Linked DNA regions of Homo sapiens: all the other regions are linked to region 3. The links are contacts of gene promoters, found by promoter capture Hi-C in human tissues and cell types (Jung and others, 2019). All regions are on one chromosome and are shown on one strand. The core of a region is centred on a gene start or on the middle of the fragment in contact, and the rest is flanking DNA. Distances in the headings are between cores, read along the strand shown.

Region 1 (4,055 bases), core at 513-3,012, 380 kb after region 3:
TGAATATACAGATGTACATAAACGAAACAAAAATCTCTGCTGCCCTGGAGTTTACATTCTGTGGGACTAGAGATAAAGGATAGATACATTACATAGAAGGTCAGCTAGTAATAAGTGTTATGGAGAAGCAGCAGGAATGGAGGATAAAGTGTGTCTTGAGGGTGTTGTAACTTTAAATAGCGGTGTCTGGAAATGAAAAGGTGGTATTTCAATCAAGATTTTCAGACCATGGCTGGGTGCAGAGGCTCATACCTGTAATCCCAGCACTTTGAGAGGCCAAGGTGGGTAGATCACTTGAGGTCAGGAGTTTGAGACCAGCGTGGCCAACATGGCAAAACCCTATATCTACAAACACACACACAAACACACACACACAAATTAGCTGGGCATGGTGATGCACACCTGTAGTCCCTGCTACTCTGGAGGCTGAGGTGGGAGGATCGCTTGAGCCTGGCGAGGTTGAGGCTGCAGTGAGCTGTGATAGCACCACTGCACTCCAGCCTCTCGACAGAGATCCTGTATAAAAAAACCTCTGCATTTCACTGTATGTAAATTATACCTCGATTCAAAAACAAAATGTGGCCGGGCAGGGGGCTGACCCCCCCACCTCCCTCCGGGACGGGGCGGCTGGCCTGGCAGGGGCTGACCCCCACCTCCCTCCCGGACGGGGCGGCTGGCCTGGCGGGGGCTGACCCCCACCTCCCTCCCGGACGGGGTGGCTGCCGGGCTGAGACGCTCCTCACTTCCCAGACGGGGTGGCTGCCAGGCGGAGGGGCTCCTCACTTCTCAGACGGGGCGGTTGCCAGGTAGAGGGTCTCCTCACTTCTCAGACGGGGCGGCCGGGCAGAGATGCTCCTCACCTCCCAGACGGGGTCGCGGCCGGGCAGAGGCGCTCCTCACATCACAGATACTTGAAGGCAGCATGCTCGTTAAGAGTCATCACCACTCCCTAATCTCAAGTACCCAGGGACACAAACACTGCGGAAGGCCGCAGGGTCCTCTGCCTAGGAAAACCAGAGACCTTTGTTCACTTGTTTATCTGCTGACCTTCCCTCCACTATTGTCCTATGACCCTGCCAAATCCCCCTCTGGGAGAAACACCCAAGAATGATCAATTAAAAAAATAAAAAAATAAATAAATGTGAACAGTACAGTCCCCTTTTCCTTTTATAAATGAAGAAAAACAAAGGCTCACTCCAAGAGTCAGACTTGCTAAAGGCTTTGATGATTTGCAGTATTCTTATTTAAATGTACAGAGCCAGCTTCAGAGGAAGGTTCTTCCAAAGACCTATCCCCTCCATGACACCAACCATCCATGATTTTTTTTTTTTTTTTTGAGACGGAGTCTTACTCTGTTGCCCAGGCTGGAGTGCAGTGGCATGATCTCGGCTCACTGCAAGCTCTGCCTCCCAGGCTCACACCATTCTCCTGCCTCAGCCTCCCAAGCAGCTGGGACTACAGGCACCCGCCACCACACCTGGCTAATTTTTTTGTATTTTTTTAGTAGAGATGGGGTTTCACCTGTAGCAGGACGAGCTGCAGACAAAACTCCTCAGACACCGAGTTAAAGAAGGAAGGGGTTTATTAGGCCGGAGGCATCAGCAAGACTCCTGTCTCAAGAGCCGAGCCCCCGCCCCGAGTGAGCAATTCCTGTCCCTTTTAAGGACTCACAAGTCTAAGGGGGTGTGCGTGAGAGGGTCGTGATCGATTGAGCAAGCAGGAGGTACGTGGGTACGTGACTGGGGGCTGCACGCACCAGTAATTAGATTGGAACAAAACAGGAATGAGATTTTCACAATGCTTTTCTATACAATGTCTGTAATCTATAGATAACATAACCGATTAGGTCCGGGATTGATTTTCAACTACCAGTCCCAGGGTGTGGCGCCCGGGCTGTCTGCTTGTGGATTTCATTTCTGCCTTTTAGTTTTTACTTTTTCTTTCTTTGGAGGCAGAAATTGGGCATAAGACAATATGAGGGGTGGTCTCCTCCCTTATTCCCCCACTTTGAGACTCTCACTCAATAGCAGGAGTTGTTTCATGTTTACTACCCATGTCTTCTTGCTAGACAGATCAATAGTGATTTATATAGTACACTTGTGCTGATGCATTTTGGTATACTAAGGTAGCGATGAAGCTTTTTATCATTTGAAGAAGTACAGGTAGCAAACGAGGGAGCAGTAAGTAGGTTCCTATTACTATTATAACTCTTATTATAAGAGTTTTAAATCCTCCTAGCGCTGGGAACCATTTTCTAAACATGGCCCCAGGATCAAATCCATGCCACACTTGCACGGGCACATGTGCCACTTTTGTCATATCTCTAACTATGTCTTCAACTACTTGCCCTTGGTTATCTATGTGTAGGCAGCAATTAGTAAGGTTAAATTTCCTACAGACCTCTCCTTCAGCTGCTAGCAAGTAGTCGAGAGCTAATCTATTTTGATAGATAGCATTTCTCATCTGAGTTTCTTGCTGGGCCAGAATAGTCAAGGCTCTGCCGGTTGCAGTGATTATTTTTAAGACAGCTTGTAACCGTATGATTCAGTTGATCATATAAATGGGGATCCGGTATCCCCACGAGCCATCTTGTGCCTAAGTAGCAGGCCCATAATACTGTATGATTCTCTCAGGGGGCCATTTATCATTGTTTCAATTTCTTATAGCTATGCTTTTCACGGGAAGCATAGACAGGGAAGCCCAGGAGTTCTCCTGTTTTTATGGACAGTAGGAAGAAAGATGGTTTAATAGTGCCAATAACACAACTACTTGTCAGGCAGCTTAGTGTAGGCTCTATGTCCACATATCCAGTATAGCCCAGTGGGGGCTGTCCAGTCCCGGTGGGATTCTGGGTGGGCCTAAACGGTCTGCAACTTTGGAAATTTACTGAATGGATTTTTCTCTGTGTGGTTTGAACTCCACCATGTAGTCTTCCTACAGGAAGGGTGAAGTCCTTCTCCACTCTTGCTATATAGTATTGTCTAATGATTGAGGCTTTTAGGACCCAGAAATTATCAGGGTGATTCTTTTGAGCTGGGAATTCATCAGGAACTGGGTCTGTAGGTACTAATTCTCGGGCTTCCCATGGCCATTGATCTGCTATTACAGTTCCTCCACATACATAACATGAAGTGACAGTGAGAGACTGGGCTACATGCTCGGCTAATTGCAAAAACAAATTTCTTGTTTTTCCTGGAAATTCTGTTATTGGCACATTTAGTTCATCATAGAAAGTTTGAAACACTGGCTCAAGAGAGCATTTGTAAACTTCTCCTCGAACCAAGATATTTACTCGGGGATTCAGTCCAGCCCCATTGATTCCTAAGGTCACACGCTACTCTTTTTTCCAGCGAGGATCAAGGGGATTGGTTATTACTAGCTCTAAGGGGTTACATTGTCCCTTAGCACAGGAAGGGCCATTTTTTTCCTTTCTGAAGGTGGACTGGATCCTTTTCATTTTTTTTAAATCCAAGTGGCCTAAATGACACAAGACCAGTATTTACATTTATTTCCACACAGTCCTAATTTATGACAGATGTACTTATTTTCTGCCATATAGCCTCTTTTCTAATTAAGAGAACCACACTTTATTCCTAACTTATTACTATTAATGACAGCACAGGCATCAAATTTTAAGGTGACTTGTTTGGGCACCCCTTTTTCTTCTGTTTTGGCTAACACTTTACTCATATCATTTATGAGCCCCCACCAGTCCTCAGTCCTTAATCTTATTTTAAAAACCGTGGTCATGGGAGGCTCAGATGGGTCATAACACACATCAGGTTGGTCACTTCCTGGGCTACATACCTTGTACAGAATAACATTATACAAACAAGTTATTTTTAGAGTTCCAGTACACTTATAATAACCATAAAATAATAGGACTGTAGCAACCTTTTGTCCTACCTCAGTGACTTGATGTATACACTGGAACAGTCCTCAGTCTGAGGAAGGTCAGTTGAAGTCCTTACTGTAAAAGTCCAAATTTTAAGGAAAATGAGTTCCGCAATGAGTTTTCTCATGCTTCGGCCGTGCGTGGACCAGTCAGCTTCTGG
Region 2 (3,949 bases), core at 42-2,541, 460 kb before region 3:
GAGAACACATCCTTATTTGCATTTAGATAAAAGCAGATCACCCACATTCACTCATTTCTCTATTTTTAAAAGTGCCCAGATTGCTCAAAGATAGCAGAAGTAGGAGATTAAAAAAAATCTGGAACCACAAAGTTAGTAGTTTCAGATGATCTGGGGTTTGGCTGTGTGAGGGGTGGCAGAATGCAGGTAGGCGCCTCAGTCGTATCTTTCTGCAGCTTCCGTTCTCAGCTCCTCACATGGGGGAGGTAGCGCACTCCGAGGTCAACTCCATGTCAAAGGTGAGGGACTCTGGAGGGACAGACAGGGAAAACTAGTTCAGTTGTCCACCCTCTGCAACTGGCAGGCCACGCCCCCAGCCCTTCAGAGGACAGGGCCCAGGCTACCACTGCTATCCAATCTCCTGCCCCTTAAGGCCCAGGGATGGTCAGAAAAGCCAGATTTACCCTCCTCCCTGGAGGACCCTGCCTCGGGAAGGGTCCTTTCTCATTCCCACCTTAACTGATTCCCAGAGCTCCATGTTTACAGAAGCTCTAAGGCTGTCCTGAGATCTTCTGCCCTTGATCTACTGTTTAATTCAGGAGCCCCGAGACACACGTGGCCACCAAGCATTTGAGATTTGGTTTGTCCAAACTGAGCTGTGCTGTGGCTGTCAAAAGCCCACTGGATTTTAAAGGCTTAGTATGAAAAAAAAGAATAAAAAAAGGTCTCAACTTTTTCTTTTTAGTTTAGTTTTGTTTATTTGAGATGGAGTCTCACTCTGTCGCCCAGGCTGGAGTGCAGTGGCACGATCTCTGCTCACTGCAACCTCCACCTCCCAGGCTCAAGCGATCCTCCCACCTCAGCTTCTTGAGTAGCTGGGATTACAGGTATGCGCCACCATGCCCAGCTAATTTTTATATTTTAGAGATTTTGGTCAGACTGGTCTCGAACTCCTGACCTCAAGTGATCCACCCACCTCGGCCTCCCAAAGTGCTGGGATTACAGGCATGAGCCACTCACCCAGCCTCAACTTTTTCTGAAATGTTAAATTGAGAGTATGTTGGATTTAGTGGGTTAAATAAAATATATTGTAAAAATTAAGTTCGTCTATTTCCAGTGTGGCTGCTAGAAGATTTATACTCACACATGTGGCATTCATACCATCTCTTTTGGAAAGCAAAGCTCTAGAATCTCCTACCATTCCGAGTGACCAGCTCTCGGTGTGTACATGTGAGAGCATCACACAAAGGGGACCAACTTCCCTTATAGGGACAAAGTCTGTCAACCAAATACTCACCAAACTGCCCTCCTGCTGAGGGTTCAGCACCTTCACCATTATTTCCAAACTGCATCAATGAATCTAAAGTGCGGGGGGACATCGGCAGGTCAATGGTATTGCTGCAGGTCGTTCTGTAGGAAATGGGGGGCAGCAGGAGGGGAAACGGGGGGTTGACAAGACACAATGGAAAAAAAAAAAAGAACAAAACACACACACACAAGCCATCAAACTCTGGTCTCCAACAGAAAAATAAAAGCTCAAGCTTTTTAAACACACAAGGTCACTTTGAGTACTAAACATAGCCCAGGGGCTTCCAACCTTTGGCAGATTAACTCTCACCCAGTGTCCCATTCCCAGGGATAACTGAGGATATTAGAAATGAAGGCAAAACGGGGAAAGGAAGCCACTTACGGTGTCACACAGATAAACTTGGTCTTCAGGTATGGGGCAGCGCCTGGGAAGAAGAAAACCAGTTTTCTTACTGACTGTGACTTCGCATTCAGTAAGCAGAGCTGGAGGAAGCCATCTGCCTCGGCAGGACTGATTTGAAACTCACTCATCCTCATGCCAAGATTGTCTGGAAAGCTCCATCTGCCCCTCAGGGTTGTCTGCCCTCATTTATACTATTTGATCTCCCAGGCACTAGCAGCTGTGAACTTCAGTTCTTTGCACAAAGCTGTCCTGAGCTGCAGAGACTTTTCAGCATAACCTTTTCCCACCTGACCCTAGACTAATGCCACCTTGTGTCCCTTCTTTCCCTAGATTATGTAAAAGTTTAACAGCCTCCACGTGGTCTGAGCATTCTATTCCGGCCTGGTCATATCTCTTAGATAACTTCTCTGCATGCAGGAACCGAGCCTGTGTAGTCTTTGCATGGTGTCCAGCCTAAATACCAATATCACCAAGTCTTTAAAGAACATGGAGACTGCTAATGCTTGTGGTTCCAAAGCCAAAGGTTATATCTCTTATTCCTACCAGCACTAATCTGGCCTCTACCACATTTTTGGATGAGGGCATGAGTAACTTTCTAGTTGGATAAATACGTCAATCAAAAAGCACCAAAGAGAATGTGACTTTGTAAGGCAGTACAATTGCTTCAACTAGAAGACCGGAGACCTGGGTCCAGGTACATCTTCAATAGCTAAGAGACCTGGAGCAAGGCATGGTCTCTCTCTTTTGTTGCTGTTGTTCTTATTGTTTTGAGACAGAGTCTCACTCTGTTGCCCAGGCTCAAGTGCAGTGGCACAATCTCGGTTACCGCAACCTCCTACTCCCAGGTCAAAACGATTCTCCTGCCTTAGGCTCCCAAGCAGCTGGGACTACAGGTGGCACCACCATGCCTGGCTAATTTTTGTCTTTTTTTTTTTTGAGACGGAGTCTTGCTCTCTTTCGCCCAGGTTGGAGTGCAGTAGCGCCATCTTGGCTCTCTACAACCTCTGCCTCCAGGGTTCAAGTGATTCTCCTTCATCAGCCTCCTGAGTAGCTGGATTACAGGCATCTGCCACCATGCCTAGCTAATTTTTTTTTTGTAATTTTAGTAGAGATGAGGTTTCACCATGTTGGCCAGGCTGGTCTTGAACTCCTGACCTCAGGTGATCCATCTGCCTCACCCTCCCAAAGTGCTGGATTACAAGTATGAGCTATCATGCCCAGCCTTGGCCACAATGCCCAGCCCATATTCTCTTTTATGTATAAAATAAGAGGGAGGGGGAAGACAAGGTGCCAATTTTCTATGAGCTTTGTCATTTATAATTCTTGTTCTACAGTTAGAAATGCGTTGACGGGAATAAAATGAATTTTAGATGCTGAATGCTTACACCAAGAGGTCAAGGAACCTTGGGGATACTGGCATGAAATCTGGGGAATTCAGGTGAACAAACCATTGAGAAGGCATGGGGCAGGGTGAGGTGGGCTGAGAACAGCACGGTCATAAAACATGAGGCTTAGACAGAACCTGAGGGATCAGAGAGCATGATGACCATGTGAAAGAAGGCACTGCAGAGTGGCTCTTGGGCTGCCATCTGAGTTTACTTTGGGCCAAGAAACTGATCAATTCAGTGCAGAATTCAAAGGAGCTACTGAGGCAAGACTCTAGTGTCTTATAAATCCAACTGTTTTGGCCCAGCCCTTAGGGAGCTGACACCCTAGACAGAAAAGGATTTAATTCTCCAGCATTCAAGATAGCTGAGGCCAGGCACAGTGGCTCATGCCTGTAATCCCTGCACTTTGGGAGGCTGAAGCAGGTGGATCACTTGAGGCCAGGAGTTCAAGACCAGCCTCACCAACATGGGGAAACCCTGTCTTTAATGAAATTACAAAAATAGCTGGGCGTGGTGGCACGCCTGTAATCCCAGCTACTCAGGAGGCTGAGACAGGAGAATCACTTGAACCTGGGAGGCAGAGGCTGAAGTGAGGTGAGATCGCACCACTGCACTCCAGCCTGGGTGACAGAGTGACAGACTGTCAAAACAAAACAAAAACAAAAACAAGGCTGGGCACTGTGGCTCACACCTATAATCCCAGCACTTTGGGAGGCCCAGGCGGGAAGATCACTTGAGGTCAGGGGTTCGAGACCAGCCTGGCCAACAGGGTGAAACCCGGTCTCTACTAAAAATCCAAAAATTAGCCAGGCATAGTGGTGCATGTCTGTAATCCCAGCTACTCAGGAGGCTGAGGTATGAGAATCTCTTG
Region 3 (4,288 bases), core at 929-3,428:
ACCTCAGCCTTCCAAAGTTCTGGGATTACAGGCGTGAGCCACCGCGCCTGGCCTGTGCTCCCAGCTAAAAGCTAGAAAAAGGGCAGATAATAGTGCTGGAGTTTAACAGTCTCCTGGCCAGGGGTACTGGCTATATTCTTTGTGTTAGGATAGATCCTCTAGGGTCAGTGTCTAGTGACAATGGCTCCGATCTCCCTAGGCCTGATTTTCACGGCCCCTTTGTGGCCCTGAAGCAGATGGTGTCATTCTCGTGCATCAGACACAAATGCTAGGTGTGGGGGAGGCTGAGTCTGAGAGGAGAACCAAGAAGGGGGAAATAAGCACAAACTCATTTCATGCTGATTCAGGCTTTCTTCCACCCCTTACTCCTAAGGAGTGCCTGGGAAGTGTGGATGGCAGCTGTAGCAGTATAGATGGCTTATGCATACCCTGCCTCTGGGAGGTCTCGGCTTCCAGCCAGAGCACTCTCCTCAGAGGCCTTGGGCCTCAGGAGCTGATTGTCTCTGCCTATCTCTCCCTGTTCAGAGTTCCACGGGCTGGATGAAGCCACTCTACTGCGGGCTCTGCAGGCCCTACAGCAGGAGCACAAGGCCGAGATCATCACTGTCAGCGATGGCCGAGGCGTCAAGTTCTTCTAGCAGGGACCTGTCTCCCTTTACTTCTTACCTCCCACCTTTCCAGGGCTTTCAAAAGGAGACAGACCCAGTGTCCCCCAAAGACTGGATCTGTGACTCCACCAGACTCAAAAGGACTCCAGTCCTGAAGGCTGGGACCTGGGGATGGGTTTCTCACACCCCATATGTCTGTCCCTTGGATAGGGTGAGGCTGAAGCACCAGGGAGAAAATATGTGCTTCTTCTCGCCCTACCTCCTTTCCCATCCTAGACTGTCCTTGAGCCAGGGTCTGTAAACCTGACACTTTATATGTGTTCACACATGTAAGTACATACACACATGCGCCTGCAGCACATGCTTCTGTCTCCTCCTCCTCCCACCCCTTTAGCTGCTGTTGCCTCCCTTCTCAGGCTGGTGCTGGATCCTTCCTAGGGGATGGGGGAAGCCCTGGCTGCAGGCAGCCTTCCAGGCAATATGAAGATAGGAGGCCCACGGGCCTGGCAGTGAGAGGTGTGGCCCCACACCGATTTATGATATTAAAATCTCAACTCCCACTGCCTGCCTCTTAAATTACTACAGTACTGGAATGGGGATGGGGAGGGCTGTGAAGTGTTGCCACCTGAGTAAATCCCAGCCTGGGAGAGGGGAGAGAAAAGAAAGCTTATGGCTTTTGTAGAAGAAAAGGTCCTCCAGGGCCCTGTGGGCTCCAGTGAGCCTGTGGTTTTACATCTGCTGGGTGGGCTGTGTGGAGGAGTGCTGATGGAACACAGCTTGGGGACAGACTGCTTTCTCTCTGAATTGGAGTCACTTAAGGGCTCCCCCTTCCCTCACCATCTCCCTCATGGAAGTCCTGAACTACTCTGAAGCCCCTCCCTCCACCCATCTGGTCTGGGTGGGGTAACTGTGGCCAAGGGGAGCTGAGGGGGGTAAGCCGGATGTGGACTTTGGTTTATTGGAGACTGGCAAACAGAAGGGGAGGAAGGAGAGCCCATATAGCAAAAACAGCCACTCTGGCCAGGGTTAGGCTGCGGCCAAGGTGGCCTGGAGGGGATGGATGACCGGGCTCTCGGTTTGGGGGAGGGACTTATCCTGGGGAGTACACACCCATTCCCTATGCAGACCAGAGGGACAACAACGTCAGACCTTTCCACTGACCTCTCCGTTCGGCCTGGGGCTACTCCGGACAGTTAGGAGGGGGTGGTGCTGCCTTATCTGGGGTGTGCAGGAGGGTGGTAGCCTCCCCCTAAGTAATCCCCCACTAGGGTCCGGGTGTCGTTCTCTCCTGCCCTCCTCCGCGCACAAACAGGTTTGCTCACTCTTAGTGCGGGAGGATGCTCCGCGGTCTCCCACTCAGTTCTGGCCTCAGAGTGAGACTGCGGCCGGGGGCTCGGGAAAGAAGGGGACGCGGCTGGGCGGGGCGGTGACTAAGGTGAGGGGCTGCTCGCGGGATCCGCACCGCGGGAGCAGCTCGGAGGGGCGGCCCTGGGGGGCAAGGGCGGGCCGCGGGGCGGCGACGGGGGCGGGGCCAGGCCGAGCTGGGGGCTGGGGCCGCAGCCGCTCAGCCGGAGCGCAGCGCACCCAGCGAGTCCGTCTGTCAGGCCGCCTCCTCTCCGGCCGTCTGATTTTCTACCCTTCGGCGCCCTGCTCTTCCTCATGTTGGCATCCCCGGCCACGGAGACCACCGTCCTCATGTCCCAGACTGAGGCCGACCTGGCCCTGCGGCCCCCGCCTCCTCTTGGCACCGCGGGGCAGCCCCGCCTCGGGCCCCCTCCTCGCCGAGCGCGCCGCTTCTCCGGGAAGGCTGAGCCCCGGCCGCGCTCTTCTCGTCTCAGCCGCCGTAGCTCAGTCGACTTGGGGCTGCTGAGCTCTTGGTCCCTGCCAGCCTCACCCGCTCCGGACCCCCCCGATCCTCCGGACTCCGCTGGTCCTGGCCCCGCGAGGAGCCCACCGCCTAGCTCCAAAGAACCCCCCGAGGGCACGTGGACCGAGGGAGCCCCTGTGAAGGCTGCGGAAGACTCCGCGCGTCCCGAGCTCCCGGACTCTGCAGTGGGCCCGGGGTCCAGGGAGCCGCTAAGGGTCCCTGAAGCTGTGGCCCTAGAGCGGCGGCGGGAGCAGGAAGAAAAGGAGGACATGGAGACCCAGGCTGTGGCAACGTCCCCCGATGGCCGATACCTCAAGTTTGACATCGAGATTGGACGTGGCTCCTTCAAGACGGTGTATCGAGGGCTAGACACCGACACCACAGTGGAGGTGGCCTGGTGTGAGCTGCAGGTGCGGCTGGGAGCCCCCTCGGTGGCACCTTGGGATGGGACTCTGGAGGTCTTAGGATGACAGACAGAGGGTGGGGGAGACAGCATCAAGGGAAGCATGTATTTTTCCAGTCAAATGTCTATAGACACCTCTGCTGTCTTTGCCCTGAATGATCTGGCTGACTCTGGGCTGCAGAAGGAGAGATTGAGGCAGGTGGTGTCTGGTGACTCCCCCATGGGTATGAACATTCTCACTTTAAAGTCTCCATACTCAACCCTGAGAGGTGGAAAATAGGATGGGAAGTTAGGCAGGGGAGCCAGTTCAGGTCAGTTTCCTGCTGGTGGGTACCCGCAATCCCTTCCTCTCCCCTAAGTCCTGAGATCCTCAGTTATGACCCTGGTCCTCTTGATCCCCTCACTCCTCCCGTCCCCCACCTATTTGCAGACCAGGAGGCTGGGATGCGGGAAGCCAGGAGCTGGGCAAGGGTCATCTCCAACTCCAGAAGATTTAGGGCAGTTGTGGCAGAATAGGGCCCCCTAACCCCTTCTGGAGCAGTCAGACTTCTGGACTTCTCCACAGCTGCGAGGAGGGGGACATAGGGAGCTCCAGCTCTCGAGTGAGTCCAGTTCTGCTCCTCATCCCACTGCCTACCTGTGCTCTCCCTTCCCAGACCTAAAGGCACTAAGCCCATGGGCTTTAGGGGGACCTTCCTCCCATTGCTCCCATGCTACATATGGGTTAGGAGAACCCAGTCAACTTGGGGCCTGAAGCTTCCGATTCAGATCAGGGGACAGAGCCTAGGGGAAGGGTCCCTCTCCAGCCCTGGCACAGGGCTCGCCCCTTGCGCCTGCCAGTGCCGCGCCCCAGGCTCTGGGCCAGGCCAGGAGAGGCAGCCAAATTGGGGGGTGAGGGGAGGGAGAGGAGCCGGGGCGGGACGACTATGGGGGTGGGCAGCCTCCTGGCGCCTAGTCCTGGATCTTTTCTTTCCTTCTCAGTACCTCCCTCCATATCCCTCCCGCCTTCCGTCTGGATCTAGCAGTTCTGTTTCTGGGGCCAACCCCCTTGCCGGCCCCAATTCCCTGCCCGCAGTATCCTGCTGCCCGCCTGCTGCCTGCTCACTGCCAGCCCCCGGGTGCCCCCTCCCGCCCCATGGCCGGCCTGGGCAGCCACAAAGGCACTATTGAGCTCAGGGCTCTGGGACCGGGCTGCATAAAGGTGCTTGTGTCCAGCAGGGGGTCTAGGGGGCTGCCCCAGGCCCAGGTTGGGTGTGTCCTTGGATCAGCTTACGTGCGGGACTGTTGGAGAGTTCAGGGTCTGCAGCCCACTGGGCAAGTAATCCCATTAACCCCACCCCATCTGTGGGCTCCAACCCTCACCTCTTCCCCCAACCCCACTCCAGGTGTCCCTCTTCCTTTCTGTGGGTG

The links. The method cuts DNA at HindIII sites, captures the fragments that hold promoters and counts their contacts. A contact is called where the count stands out against the background at its distance.
Region 1: a contact is called between a fragment that was not itself captured here and the fragment with the promoter of WNK4 in region 3, in 1 of the 25 tissues and cell types used here (thymus).
Region 2: a fragment that was not itself captured here is called in contact with the fragment with the promoter of WNK4 in region 3 in 1 of the 25 tissues and cell types used here (heart left ventricle).

Annotation. Positions count from the first base shown.
Region 1 is chr17:43,158,724-43,162,778 of GRCh38, forward strand. The region is part of intron 1 of LOC101929767 (a long non-coding RNA gene); the gene reads right to left. LOC124900391 (a long non-coding RNA gene) reads right to left here. Exons shown (of 2, transcript XR_007065760.1): 2 at 1,565-4,055. It also overlaps a transcript of BRCA1 not described here. Among named protein-coding and RNA genes, the nearest start is that of NBR1, 10 kb to the right of the region's middle. RefSeq lists an enhancer at 689-1,219. The HindIII fragment of the contact is 5,552 bases long and covers 1-4,055 here.
Region 2 is chr17:42,315,513-42,319,461 of GRCh38, forward strand. It overlaps STAT3 (signal transducer and activator of transcription 3), which reads right to left. Exons shown (of 24, transcript NM_139276.3): 22 at 1,670-1,712; 23 at 1,277-1,389; 24 at 1-288. The coding sequence ends at 233. Among named protein-coding and RNA genes, the nearest start is that of STAT5A, 29 kb to the left of the region's middle. The HindIII fragment of the contact is 8,739 bases long and covers 1-3,949 here.
Region 3 is chr17:42,778,432-42,782,719 of GRCh38, forward strand. WNK4 (WNK lysine deficient protein kinase 4) reads left to right here and starts at 2,179. Exons shown (of 19, transcript NM_032387.5): 1 at 2,179-2,885. The coding sequence starts at 2,268. It overlaps VPS25 (vacuolar protein sorting 25 homolog), which reads left to right. Exons shown (of 6, transcript NM_032353.4): 6 at 526-1,168. The coding sequence ends at 638. RefSeq lists an enhancer at 2,252-3,209. The HindIII fragment of the contact is 5,514 bases long and covers 228-4,288 here.